Linked DNA regions of Homo sapiens: region 2 is linked to region 1. Evidence: promoter capture Hi-C in 16 types of primary human blood cells and fetal thymus (Javierre and others, 2016). All regions are on one chromosome and are shown on one strand. Each heading gives the region's core, a stretch centred on a gene start or on the middle of the fragment in contact. The rest is flanking DNA. Distances are from core to core; before and after follow the strand shown. Region 1 holds the start of LYPLA1 (lysophospholipase 1). Region 2 has its middle 17 kb from the start of ATP6V1H.

Region 1 (7,655 bases), core at 3,168-5,667:
TTAGCATGTTAAAAGACACTTCCACCAGCTCCATGACAGTTGTAAACTGCTATGGCCAGGTAGGGAATCTACCCTATATGGTCAAAAGAGGAACCCTCGGTTCCAGGAAATCCCTGTCCCTTTACCAGAAAACTCATGAATAATCCACCCCTTGTTTAACATATAAACAAGCAATAACTATTAGTATACTCAGTGGAGCAGCCCCTAGCCCTGCTCTGCCTACGGAGTAGCCATTCTTTTGTTTTTTTTTGTTTTGTTTTGTTTTGTTTTTGCTTCTCTAATAAAATTGCTTTCACTTATGGCCCCAAATTCTTTCTTGCCAGAGATCCAAGAATCTTCTCTTGGGACTGGGATCCCTTTCCAGTAACACTGATATCACAACTAAAGGACTTAAAAGCCTGATAAATGTACACAAGTACATGAAATGTGAATCCCACTATTATCATTTTCAGTAAATTGTCATCAATTTAAAACTTTTGGAGAATCCACAAAATTCTCATTGTCCAAATCCAATCCACAAGAATGATTAAAAACAGTGTGAATAAGACCTCAAATCCTTCAGAACGCTGATATTACAGGAAAGGGGTCCCAATCCAGACCCCAAGAGAGGGTTCTTGGATCTCACGCAAGAGAGAATTCAGGGCAAGTCCATACAGTAAAGTGAAAGCAAGTTTATTAAGAAAGTAAAGAAATAAAAGAATGGCTACTCCATAGCTGGTTGCCCATTTTTATGGTTATTTCTTGATGTTATGCTAAACAAGGGGTGGATTATTCATGCCTCCCCTCTTTAGACCATATAGGGTAACTTCCTGACATTGCCACAGCACTCGTAAACTGTCATGGCGTTGATGGTGTGTCCAGCATTGGTGGGTTCTTGGTCTCACCGACTTCAAGAATGAAGCTGCGGACCCTCGCGGTGAGTGTTACAGTTCTTAAAGATGGTATGTCTGGAGTTTATTCTTTCTGGTGGGTTCCTGGTCTCACTGGCTTCAGGAGTGAAGCTGCAGACCTTCGCAGTGAGTGTTATAGCTCTTAAAGGCACTGCGGACCCAAAGAGTGAGCAGCAGCAAGATTTATTGCAAAGAGCAAAAGAACAAAGCTTCCACAGTGTGTAACGGGACCCGAGTGGGTTGCCACTGCTGGCTCAGGCAGCCTGCTTTTATTCCCTTATCTGGCCCCATCCACATCCTGCTGATTGGTCCATTTTACAGAGAGCTGACTGGTCCATTTTGACAGGGTGCTGACTGGTGCATTTACAATCCCTGAGCTAGACACAAAAGTTCTCCAAGTCCCCACTAGATTAGCTAGACACAGAGCGCTGATTGGTGCATTTACAAACCTTGAGCTAGACACAGGGTGCTGATTGGTGTGTTTAACAAACCTTGAGCTAGACACAGAGTGCTGATTGGTGTTATTTACAATCCCTTAGCTAGACATAAATATTCTCCACGTCCCCACCAGATTAGCTAGATACAGAGTGCTGATTGGTGCATTTACAAACCTTGAGCTAGACACAGAGTGCTGATTGGTGTATTTACAATCCTTTAGCTAGACATAAAGGTTCTTCAAGTCCCCACCAGATTAGCTAGATACAGAGCGCTGATTGGTGCATTTACAAACCTTGAGCTAGACACAGGGTGCTGATTGGTGTGTGTACAATCCTCTAGCTAGACATAAAAGTTCTTCAAGTCCCCACTAGACTCAGGAGCCCAGCTGGCTTCACCTAGTGGATCCTGCACTGGGGCCGCAGGCAGAGCTACTTGCCAGTCCCACGCCGTGGGCCTGCACTCCTCAGCCCTTGGGCGGTCGATGGGACCAGGTGCCGCGGAGCAAAGGGAGGTGCTGGTCAGGGAGGCTTGGGCCACGCAGGAGCCCACGGCGGGGGCGGGGGAGGCTCAGGTATGGCGGGCTGCAGGTCCTGAGCCCTGCCCCGCGGGGAGGCGGCTGAGGCCCGGGGAGAATTCCAGCGCAGTGAGGGCGGGCCCACAGTGCCGGGGGACCTGGTGCCCCCTCCGCAGCTGCTGGCCCAGGTGCTAAGCCCGCCGAGCCCACGCCCACCCGGAACTTGCTCTGGCCCCGGTTCCCACGGACACCTCTCCCTCCACACCTTTCTGCAAGCAGAGGGAGCTGGCTCTGGCCTGCGCCAGCACAGAGTGGCTCCCACAGTGCAGCGGCGGGCCGAAGGGCTCCTCAAGTGTGGCCAGAGCAGACACCGAGGCCGAGGAGGTGCTGAGAATGAGCGAGGACTGCTAGCGCGTTGTTATCTCTCAATGAGAGTGCAGTAGTGAGGATGACCAGAGTTCACTCTCATTGCCATCTTAGTTTTGGTGGGTTTTGGCCGGCTTCTTTACTGCATCCTGTTTTATCAGCAAGATCTTTATAAGCTATATTTTGCGCTGACGTTCTATCTCATCCTGTGACTTAGAATGCCTTAACCGTCTGGGAATGCAGCCCAATAGGTTTCAGCCTTACTTTACTCAGCCCCTATTTAAGATGGAGTTGCTCTGGTTCACACGCCTCTGACACTGGTTACCGTGTGAAAGAAATGGAGTGTTGTTTTTTTTACAGCTTTCTTCCGAACCTTACTCTCTAAGGATGGTATCCAGTATGTCCTTTTTTTTTTCAGATGGAGTCCTGCTCTGTTGCCCAGGCTGGAGTGCAGTGGTACTATCTTGGCTCACTGCAAGCTCCGCCTCCTGGGTTCATGCCATTCTCCTGCCTTAGCCTCCCGAGTAGCTGGGACTACAGGCAACCACCACCACACCCAGCTAATTTTTTTTTTTTTTTGTATTGTTAGTAGAGACGGGTTTTCACCGTGTGAGCCAGGATGGTCTCAATCTCCTGACCTCGTGATCCGCCCACCTCGGCCTCCCAAAGTGCTGGGATTACAGGTTTGAGCCACTGCGCCCGGCCTCCAGTATGTCCTTCACTGAATTGTAAACTTCTGAAGGTCAGGGCATTTTGGCTTTAAGTGTTTCTATCTTGTGCTCTCTTCCAGATCTTACCATGTAGTTGATATGCAACACATTTGTTGAGTAACTACATTTTAGGCCATAAAGGCACCTGTGCAGAAAAGGGCAGTCTAGTCTCATGCTTATGTGTCCAGAGTTGGTTCCTTCCGGTGGGTTCATGGTCTCGCTGACTTCAAGAATAAAGCTTGTCACCTTCGTGGTGAGTGTTACAGTTTTTTTTTTTTTTTTTTTTTTTTTTTGAGACAAGGTCTCTCTCTGTCTCCCAGGCTGGAGTGCAGTGACGCGATCTCAGGTCACTACAAGCTCTGCCTCTCAGGTTCACGCCATTCCCCTGCCTCAGCCTCCCAAGTAGCTTGGACTACACGACCGGCCAATTTTTTTTTTTTGTATTTTTAGTAGAGACGAGGTCTCACCGTGTTAAGGCAGGATGGTCTCGATCACCTGACCTCCTGATCCACCCGCCTCGGCCTCCCAAAGTGCTGGGAGTGTTACAGCTCTTAAAGGTCCCACAGACCCAAAGAGTGAGCAGCAGCAGCAAGATTTATTGTGAAGAGTGAAAGAACAAACTTTCCACAGTGTGGAAGGGGACCCAGGGCTGCCACTGCCAGCTAGGGGATGGGGGGCGTGGCCAGCTTTTATTTCCTTATTTGTCCCGGCCCAAGTCCTGCGGATTGGTCCACTTTACAGAACACTGATTAGCCCGTTTTACAGGGTACTGATTGGTGCATTTTACAAACCTCTAGCTAGCCACAAAGTGCTGATTGGTGCATTTTACAATCCTAGCTACAGAGTGCTGTTGGTACATTTTACAATCCTCTTGTAAGACAGAAAAGTTCTCCAAGTCCCCAACCGACCCAGAAGACCAGCTGGCTTTACCTCTCACTTAAACCTGTACTGTGTCAATATCCGTACATCAGTAAGTGTTGTCGATCAAGTTAGGGAAGTAGTGGATTTCTGGTGACAAATGTTACCCTTTCCAACTAAAGTTTAAAGAAGGTAAGTTGAACCCAAATCTACATACTGCTGTAGCCCCAAACGGAAATACTGCAAAAGCTCCATCAACGTCTCCCAGTCCATCCAGACTTTTACAAATGGATAGACCCCGGCCGCAGGAAACCAAGGAGCACCTGGGGTTGGGTTGGGTGAATTGGCTCTGGGGCTCATTCTTTTCACTACAGCGCCAGAAAAGCAAAAACCTAAACCAAGACCCAAGAGACCAGCCCTCAGCCTGCACCTGAGAGCACATTTTCCCTAGCCAGCACTGAGCATGCGCAGGCTGCGTGGTGTGGCGAAAGCGCAGCCAGGTCCGCGCTGCCGCCGCAGCCAATCGGAGGGAGGGAGCCGCCCGGACATTGTGAGGTGCCGAGGGAGGGGCGGCGGGCGAGGGGCAGGGCAGGGCGGACCCTGGACGCGCGGGCGCGCGCGGAAGGTAGCGCGGGGCCGCGTTGGCGCGCACGCGCCTGAGCGTGCGCCCGGTGGGGCCGGCCGGGACTCGCCGCTCGCACGCCCTTGGGCCGCGGCCGGGCGCCCGCTCTTCCTTCCGCTTGCGCTGTGAGCTGAGGCGGTGTATGTGCGGCAATAACATGTCAACCCCGCTGCCCGCCATCGTGCCCGCCGCCCGGAAGGCCACCGCTGCGGTGAGTGGCGTAGGCGTGGGCTCGGAGGGGTCCACTGGGCCGGCCACCGGTGGTTGCCCCTCGCGCGGGGTGGGCGTTGCGGGCGCGTGGCGGCCTGCGGACGAGGACGCTCCTCCCGGCCCGGGTGGGGTGCGAATGGTCCGCGCGGCCGGGTCCGCGGGGGGCGGGGGCAGCCGGGGGGTCACAGCCGGCGCGAGGGCCAGTCCCCAGCTCCTCCCTGCATTGCGGAGGAAGTGTGGCCCCGGGACCCCCGCGGGCCGGCCTAGGGCACGGCGTCAGCCTCTGCAGCGTGTTTCTGCCTGGTGTGTGGGTGAGGGAAACCTAAGTCCGCCAGGAAATCGCCTTATTGTCACCTCGCACTCTTATCCTCAATGAAAGAAGTTTGAAGATTGAGTGTCCTACAAGGTCAGACGTACTGTTTTTTAGAAAACTCGTGTATGAAAAGTCAAACTTATTTTTGCCTCCGGAAGCTTGCTTTTGCAGTGGAAAAATTCTACAGGATATGTGAGATGTTCCTGATTTCACTTGAAAGAGATAAACTGTTTTTCTTAGAATGTGATCATTTGCACTCAATGTCTAACTGGGACCTCTCAGTGCTACCCCCCCCCCATTCATTATCTCAGGAAATAAAGGGAGAAGTTGATCAGAATTTTTGCCATTTAAAAGAGGTCGATAAAGATTAAGTCGCCGAAGATAGTGTTGTGTAATTCTCTCGTAGGTTTCGTTCCGTTTTCCACCTTAAGCAAAGCTAGTGTGTAACAATCCTGTGTGGGCTTATTTAGGCATTGCTTATTAATTTTCCTCTTCTCTTATAGGTGATTTTCCTGCATGGATTGGGAGATACTGGGTAGGTACCATTATTATTAATAGTAACAGTAATGAAACTGGGTCATGCAACTTTTGTTTACGCGTTCAAAGGTTTAATGTTTAAGGGCGCTAAAATGGTATTTTAAGATTGCCAGTTAATGTATCTTACAGTGCGGTGATTTTATGTTTTGAAAACCCTCAGAATTTTCCCCTTATCATCGTGAGTTTATTGATTTTTTAACTCTGGTTTCTGGAACATATTAAAATTTCAAATTCCTCATTAGTTGCTTTGGGTATTGGATACCAGAGATCCGTGGAATGTTAGTAGGGACGGTGTGCAATTGAGAGCTTTCCAGAGCAGTTAAAATTTCAGAGCAGATTGAAGAGAAGAACTAGTTGATTTTGATAAGAGAACTAGTGGCAACATAAGGCATGCAGCATTCTGAATAGAGGGATTAGATGTTCACTCTAATGAGTTGAAAGGCAGGGGAGGCAACTCAAAGATTTATTTGGAGGCTTATCAAACAATTTGTTGTACTAACTACTTATTTTTATTTTATTTTTTGTTTGTTTGCTTTTTTCTTTTGTTATTATTTTTAGAGACAAGGGCTCTCTCTGTCGCCCAGGCTGGAGTGCAGTTGCAGGATCTTAGCTCACTGCAGCTTTGAACTCCTGGGCTCAAGTGATCCTTCAGCCTCAGCCTCTCAAAGCACAGAGATTAGAGGTGGGAGCTGCCTGAGCCTGGCCTTTTGTACTAACTTTAGATACATGATTTATCTTTTACTCAAGCTTTTTCTATATTGAGATGTTTTTGTTTTTATATTTAAATTGGTGATAATCTGTGAAACTTAAGCAAAATATGAATGTTGTTGAAAAATTGCAGAAATAGAGGAAAACTGAAGATAAATAAATTTTGATAAAGTAGCCCCAGAACGACTAAATTTTCTTTAAAATGAACCATTGGGGCCGGGCGCGGTGGCTCACACCTGTAATCCCAGCACTTTGGGAGGCCGAGGTGGGTAGTTCACTTGATGTCAAGAGTTCGACACCAGCTTGGCCAATATGGTGAAACCCCATCTCTACTAAAAATATAAAAATTACCCGGGTGTGGTGGTGCATGCCTGTAATCCCAGCTGCTAGGGAGGCTGAGAGAAGAGAATCACTTGAACCTGGGAGGCAGAGGCTTCAGTGAGCCAAGATTGCACGACTGCACTCCAGCCTGGGCCACAGAGTGAGACTCAAAAAAAAAAAAAATGCCATTAGGCTAGATTTTTGTTTGTTTGTTTGGAGACAGGGTCTGCTGTGTTGCCCTGGCTGGAGGGCAGTGGCGTGATCTTGACTCACTGCAACCTCCACCTTCTGGGTTCCTGGGTCTCCCGAGTAGCTGGGACTACAGTTGCTTGCCACCATGCCAGCTAATTTTTGTATTTTTAGTAGAGACAGAGTTTTGCCATGTTGGTTACGCTGGTCTCGAACTCCTGACCTCAAATGATCCACCCACCTGAGCCTCCCAAAGTGCTGGGATTACAGGCGTGAGCCACCACTTAAAAGTGATTCCTATTTTTTGCCTAATAAGTCGAGTTATGTAATACAAACTTTGTATGGAGTTACAGAAAAGGTTGCAGCACTCTTTCTGGCAATCCAGTGGTCCTGTGAAAATGATGAACTTATTTTACCAAATGAAACTCGAATAGCAGAATCTCTATTTTATGGCCAAACCTTTCTTGATGTTGCAAGTCAGGGAGAAGGTTGCTATCCTCTAACTTTGCCAATAATGAGCACTTCTATGCCTGAATGATTAGTTCAAGCAAAAAAAAAAAAACTTCAGTCTAGGCAGATTCCACAGACTGAAGCTAAAAGTAAAAATGGTGAAGACTATTAGGATCAAAAATACCAAGAACATCCATTACATCTTGACCAAAAGTTAAGTTTATATTAAAAAAGTATCCTTCTTTTTAACCTGTTGTGATAAAAGAAAAAACAAAGGTCTCCAGTTCTGAAATTATTTGGTGGGATAATGCTAAGGAAAGGCTGACTCTAGATTGGTTCCATGAGTGCATGATGAAACTTCGAACCTGTCAGCCTGACAAGTGGCAATTTAATACTTAAGATATTGTAGTCTCCCCTTACCTGCAGTTTTGCTTCCCATGGTTTCAGTTACCCGTGGTTAACTGTGGTTTGAAAATACTAAATGAAAAATTCCAGAAATACTTTATAAGTTTAAAATTGTACACCATTC
Region 2 (7,115 bases), core at 963-3,462, 240 kb after region 1:
CCAATTCTTGGCATTTCAAAGACATTGCCCTTTATGTCATCATCTTGCTTGGTGGCAGGGTGTACCTGTGTCAGCCAAAAGGGTGATATCACTGAGCTTTTCACTTGGTAAAAAAGGACATCTTCAAGTACTCAGACTTCAGTTAGTTACAACTGAGCCTCAAGTCGCACTGGTTCGAAGTGCTGCAGTGCTTGGATTTCCACCAGATGTCACCATTTGCCATTGTTCTACTCCCTGCCTTTAAAAAGCATTAGCAAAGAAGAGCCCATCTGCTCTTGGGCCCCTGAGAATGCTTATTGCATCTGGGAGTGAGGTGGAGGGCTGTATTCCAAGAAGGGAGCAATGAGCTCTGAATCTTGACTCAGGGAGAAGGAATTTGAAAATGTCATGGCCGGGCGCTGTGGCTCGCACCTGTAATCCCAACACTTTGGGAGGCCGAGGCGGGCGGATCACCTGAGGTCCGGAGTTTGAGACCAGCCTGACCAACATGGAGAGACCCCGTCTCTACTAAAAATACAAAATTAGCCGGGCATGGTGGCACATGCCTGTAATCCCAGCTACTCGGGAGGCTGAGGCAGGAGAATCCCTTGAACTGGGAGGCAGAGGTTGCGGTGAGCCGAGATCGTGCCATTGTACTCCAGCCTGAGAAACAAGAGCGAAACTCCATCTCAAAAACAAAAGAAAAGAAAAGAAAAGAAAATGTCATGAGCTCTCTGGTTCCCGATTTCCTAAAACCCAAAGGCATTATTTCCCCCTCCCCTTGTGATTTCGTGTATCTAAAAACCCAGCCCATTTCTGATGGATAAACCAAGCAGAACTATAACCTGGCTTTTGGCCAAAACAACTTAGAAAAGGAGGAGATTTTCTTTTCTTTTTAGAGATAGGGTCTCACTCCATCACTCAGGCTGGAGTGTAGTGGCATGATCATAGCTCACTGCAGTCTCTAACTCCTGGGCTCAAGCAATCCTCATGCCTCAGCCTCCTGAGTAGCTAGGACTTAGGGGCATGTGCCACTCACCCAGCTAATTTTTAAATTTTCTTGTGGAGACTGGATCTCTCTTTGTTGTCCAGGCTGGCCCCAAACTACTGGCCTCCTAAAGTGCTGGCATTACAGGGATGAGCCACCATGCCTAGCCCTCCAGCTAATTTTTTATAAAGCAGGAGGTTTTGAAGTGAAGACAGAACCAAGGAACGCTGCACCTTCTCTGTGATCAGAAGTAGAAGCCAGCAGGATTTGCATCACGCTGGAGTGTGGTTTCTGAGGAGGGGCTGGAAGTAGCCCTGAACCCCAAGTCTCCCACCTGCTCAGATTTTATATGGTCCAAATTACACTACTCAGGTTCATTCTTGTGGATCTAATATGAGTGTTCCCTGTAGATTTCATGAGCAGGAGTGATGTATGAATTCATTTACATCTAAGTGCATTTGAATTTGAACTTTTGTTTCTTTTTTTAAAGGGAGAAACTAGGCCAGAATGAGAGAATGAGGTTCCTAGGGTATGTCTGTGGATGTTGGCGAAGAGTCCAAGGTGAGGGGTGGGTGAGAGAGAGGGGAGGCAAACTTCTCTTAACTTCTAGTTTGGTCCAGGCTAACGACCAGGGGCCTGAGGGACCCTCCTTTGCCTCCTGTTCCTCACACCCTCCTCACCTTCACTCTGCTTATCTTCAGGGTAGCAAAGAATCCATGTGGGGCAATGGTTGGCCCCCCCAAAGCTTGGACTCCCCACGGGCCAACAAATGATGGGAGATGTGTGGCTTCTCCAAAACTGCAGCTCTGGGAAAGGGGAAGCTTAGAGATCTTAATGATGCTAATAAGTTGGTAAAAATAATCAGGTGCAGGTATTTTTAAGACAAGGCAAAAACAGAAAAAAGGAAGCAATAGTACCTGGATTTTATTTGCTGATCATAAGCTTACTTTTTAATCCAGCAAACTTGTTCTTCAACAAAACTGTCTGTAAAATTAATTGCATGTCCTCCTGATACGATGTTGATGGTAATAATACTTTCTCTTCAAATGAAAACTTCAAAAATATATCCTTCAGAACATGATCCTCTGGGCAAATGGTCACAGATGAAAGCCTTAAATACAACTCACAGAAGCAGAGACAGCAGATTTATTACAGAATTCGGAAATGCAGTGTGACATTGGTAGTATCAACTGCTTTGATCATTTCTTTCAAGTAATGTTTTATTCATTTCATTTGGTCATATTTTGCTCAACTATTTTTATGTAACTTCACACAATCTATATATTTTGTTGATAACTTACAGGTAAAAATATTCATTTATTAGTGTGGGTGTTTATCCGATGACCCACACTGGGTCACGCTGACTCAAGAGAGGACAGAGGGTCACACAAGAACTTCACAGCTTGTGTCCCCTAGGGGCTGAGGGTCTGCTGACTCTAGTTTTGTGGGGCTTATCCACAGATACTTTGCAGAATGTCTGGTGGTGGGAATAGGAGATAAACAGAGAAGATGTGTAGAATTATCTCTGAGGCGTGATTACAAAGCTTGTGGGTGATAGATATAAAAATGCCAGGCCTCAAATATCTAAATCAGGGCTGTCTACTTCAGGTGTCATCGTTGATTTTGGAATCCCATAAGTTGGTTTAAAGTTGCAATCACTCAAAATATGTGCTGGACAACCCCTTAAGATTGTCTTACAACCTAAAGAACAGCTAGGGCTGATTGATCTTTTTTTTTTTTTGGAGACAGGGTCTCACTCTGTTGCCCAGGCTAGAGTGCAGTGGTGTGATCTTGGCTCACTGTAGCCTCTGCCTCCTGGGTTCAGGCAATTCTCCTGCCTCAGCCTCCTGAGTAGCTGGGATTACAGGCATGTGCCACCACACCCAGCTAATTTTTGTATTTTTTAGTAGAGATGGGGTTTCACCATGTTGGCCAGGCTGGGCTCGAACTCCTGACGTCAAGTGATCCACCTGTCTTGGCCTCCCAGAGTGCTGGGATTAGAGGTGTGACCCACTGCGCTCAGCAGGGCTGATGGATCTTGAGACAGAGACCACATCTATACTGGGCCAGATCCTCTCTCCTGGGAATTTGGAATGAGAACATGGAGCCACAGCTATTAGAGGCAGTTTGCTGGTGTTAAACTATCTTCCACAGATTCCTGGTCTGAGGTTCCTGGGCTGCTAGCCTCCTGCCTCCTTGCTATTTCCTTTTGTCTTCTAGTCATATGCAATTTGAACAGACAGTTACAAAAACGTGTTGAGACAATGTCTTGCATATTTTAGTTCATTTCCAGTCTTATTTTGAATAAAAGTTCTTAGAATGATCTATCACTTGAATATAAATCCTTACAATTTTTAGTGTTGAGAATTCGAAATCATATAAGCCAAATATAGTCTTATGGGAAAACATATTTGGTTACATAGTTGATGTCAAATCAAATTACTTTTGTAGTCTGTGATTTGGGTTTCTTTCTTGAATATTTGAATATATTCCAGTTGTCACTATATGGTTTAAACTATTATCCTTTCAACATATTTGCTTCATCTTAAAATTTCATTTTTCAGTCATTTGAAATGCAGGAGCTGTAAAACCATTCTATAGATGTTTCTAAAATAAACTCTTAAGTGACACAAGCTTGATTTGGATCACCTTTTCTCATAGAATGGAAATAAATGGTTTCTAGAGAACCTAGAAAAACAAGTTTACTCCCCGATATGGTTTGGCTGTGTCCCCACCAAAATCTCATCTTGAATTGTAGCTCCCATAATCCCCATATGTCATGGGAGGGACCCGGTGGGAGGTAACTGAATAGTGGGGGTGGGTTTTTCCCATGCTGTTCTCATGATAGTGAATAAGTCTCATGAGATCCGACGGCTTTATAAAGGGCAGTCCCCCTGCACACGCTTTCTTGCCTGCCACCATGTAAGACATGCCTTTGCTCCTCCTTTGCCTTCCACCATGATTGTGAGGGCTCCTCAGCCATGTGGAACTGTGAGTCCATTAAACCTCTTTTTCTTTATATATCAACCAGTCTCGGGTATTTCTTCACAGCAGTATGAAAATGGACTAATACACTCCCTGAGTTTCCCAATATAGTTTATTCACATCTTTATCTTGCAAGAGGGTAAAACTTTAATGTAAATTTTCTAAAACATTTGCAGTGATTCTGTGGCTTTGTGAAGACTGGCTTGATTTCAGCAGGGAAGCCAACATGATTTTATGAGACTTTTGAACAATGGTAATGATACTAGATATATTTTTCTGTAACCATTAAAACCATTTAAAATCTGAGAGTTGTAAAATCAATGAAAAGACAAACAAACCAGTATACTAAAGCTAGCCAGGATTTTTGCAGTATGCTTCTTTGATTTTCATATGGGATATTTTTTGCCATTTAAAATATTCCCCAAAAGGTCAAGATGATTTGTGCAGTTACTGAATGTTTGCTAGACAGCATACACAACAGCTTCCATTGTGGTGTATAAATAGAATATGAAAAGTTTGTTCGTTTGTTATTTAAATTTAAAGGTACATCGTAAGCTCTAGTCTTTGGGATTCTTAAAAACAAATGTATTATGTTAATTTTCAAAATACAAAAAATCTGAGTGACTATCTTCATGAACCCTCATGTCCATCACCCAGTTTCAATAATTAAGAACACATTGTCAAGTCTGCATTATCTCTTACACTCCTACTTTCCTCCTCCCCTGGATTATTTTAAGGCAAATCAAAGACCACATCTCTCTTCTGAAAACCCTTTCAGTACTTCCCACTTCCTCTGCCCCACCCCCCGCGGTTTTTTTTTTTTTTTTTTTTAAACATAACCCCAGTTCCATTGCTGGATATTTTTCAGACAGTCAAGGAGGCATTGGACATGGCCTACAGGTTAAAAAAAATGGGGCCACATTAACTGCAGCAAATAATCTTTTGAGCTTGCCCCAGCTGATCACCGGAGACCCTTCTCCACCTTCCTTGCTTGGGGGCGTCTCAATTGTTTCTAAAACCTCCAGGGTGAATCAGTATCATGTGCCATCGCCCTTTTCACTCTTCCCTGCCTCTCTTTCTTCAGCAATGCCACCTCTGGCTCTTTGCAATATTACATTGACTTTTTTCAAGCCAATGTATATCTGAAAAGCACAAATACACATTATGCTTTCTTTCGGGTATGTGTACATAGAGGTTTTTAAAAGGATGTGTGTGTGTGTGTATATATATATATGTATATATATATGCATCCATTTCTGATATAAAGAATGCTTTATTTTTTATTTATAGTCACCAGAGTTTTCTAATTATGACCTCTCCTGCGGGCCTTACTGCAGTGAGATACTAGCCTGTTTCATTGATAGAATGGTTTTCAATTTTTCCTGTTCAGATTCTTAATCAGAATTGTAAGTGGAGTGTACAGGTGCTCAGATTAGAGCCCAGTGGATGGTGTGGTGAAGGCTGCCAGTGTAATCCCAAACGCTGGGACTACAGACGTGAGCCACCACATCTAGCCGCCATTTACTTTTAAGTTGATCACCATTTCATTTTTTACTTTGAAAGGCATTAGCTGGTATCTTAGGTGCTTAATTAATGTAAGGGATTGTCCAAGTTAGCTATATAAGAATAGTCTCTGGGATGATAATAAGTACCTTTTATGACAAGATGAAACACTATTTTATTTTATTTTTTTATTTTTATTTCTAATTCACACATAATAATTGCATATATTTATGGGGTACAATGTGATGTTTTAATATTTGTATACATGGTAGAAACCTTAAATAAAGCTAACATATCCATCATCTCATCTATTTTTTTTTTGTGATGAGACAGTTAAAAATTTGCTTTTTGCAACTTTGAAATATACATGATTACAAGCTAAGTATTCCTTAAACAAAATGTTTGGAACCAGAAGTGTTTTGGATTTCAGATTTTTTTCAGCTTTTGGAATATTTGCATTATATTTACTGGCTTGGCATCCCGAATCTAAAAATCCAAATCTGAAATGCTCCAATGAGCATTCCTTTTGAATGTCATATCTGCACTTAAAAAGTTTCAGATTTTGGAGCATTTTGCATTTTGGACTTTCAGATTAGGGATGCTCAAGCTGTGTTAACTACAGTCACCATACTGTAGAATAGATCACTAAAATTTATTTCTCTCATCTCACTGATACTTTGTGCCCTTTGACCAACATCTTCCCTTTCTCCATCCCCCCTCTTTTTTTGTTCTTAATATCACATGGATTGTCCTGGGTTCTGTGAGCTTAGAGGCTGAATAATTGAAGACCTTTTTTCACTTTCCCAAAGAGCATACCCAAGGTCTTCCTTATGGTCTCCATCAAAGGAAGACCAAGTAAGTACTGCTCACTGAGAACCCAAGGACCTGAGCCACAAGGCCTGTGGAGCCACATCCCCTTGGCCTCACTTGGGAAGACCCTGCAGCAGGTGCCAGAGGAGACAGCCACTGAACATGTGCATGCTAGCCACGGCAGAGAGAAGTATGGCTGACTTCCAAATGAGCCCTTTCCTCAATAGGTTTGTGAACATCTCAAGTGTTAAACTACTTACTATGGAATTATTTTTGGAGCGCCTTCAGGAAAATAAGAAACAACTTTATTCTTCTCAGTGAACTTACTCTTTCACAAATGGAGGCAGGACAGAATAATTCTGTCTTCTGAATACACTTATGGTAAGGTGTTTGGCCAACAGGCGTACTTGCTCTCTTACTAAGCTGTTTTTCCTTTCTTCTTTCCTCTATCATTTTCATCACACAAGGCTCCATTGTCTTTGTAGCTGCCCTTTGGTGCCTTGAGATTTATTTTCTCATTTCTGTGTATAAGGTCTCAAAATAAGTGCTTTGATCAGCTGCTCAAGGGATCACATGTCTGGAACAGCAGAGCACTCAGAAGCCCACACTTTCAGAAGGGCATTGACTTTGGAATGGGCTGAAAAATAACCTTGTGGAAACAGCTCTCTTGTCTAAGCTCTGACCATGTTTATAATTAAGAAAGAATGCACACACATAAACATATATATCTATATTGACAGAGTTGACTTATCACTAGAGCAGCTGTAATGCTTTCTCTTCCTCATGTCGATTGTCTAGAAAAACTGCTGGCTAGAGTTCACCCGCCCTCCCACTTGCATTCTTGCCCTGA

Evidence for each region. The method cuts DNA at HindIII sites, captures the fragments that hold promoters and counts their contacts. A CHiCAGO score of 5 or more calls a contact.
Region 2: a fragment that was not itself captured here is called in contact with the fragment with the promoter of LYPLA1 in region 1 in 1 of 17 cell types (M0 macrophages); the score reaches 5.5 in M0 macrophages.

The regions. Positions count from the first base shown.
Region 1 is chr8:54,098,709-54,106,363 of GRCh38, reverse strand. LYPLA1 (lysophospholipase 1) reads left to right here and starts at 4,417. Exons shown (of 9, transcript NM_006330.4): 1 at 4,417-4,609; 2 at 5,425-5,456. The coding sequence starts at 4,541. It overlaps LYPLA1-TCEA1 (LYPLA1-TCEA1 readthrough), which reads left to right and starts at 4,417. Exons shown (of 21, transcript NM_001425842.1): 1 at 4,417-4,609; 2 at 5,425-5,456. RefSeq lists a silencer at 4,294-4,863. The HindIII fragment of the contact is 1,923 bases long and covers 3,159-5,081 here.
Region 2 is chr8:53,856,561-53,863,675 of GRCh38, reverse strand. It overlaps a transcript of RGS20 not described here. Among named protein-coding and RNA genes, the nearest start is that of ATP6V1H, 17 kb to the right of the region's middle. The HindIII fragment of the contact is 602 bases long and covers 1,912-2,513 here.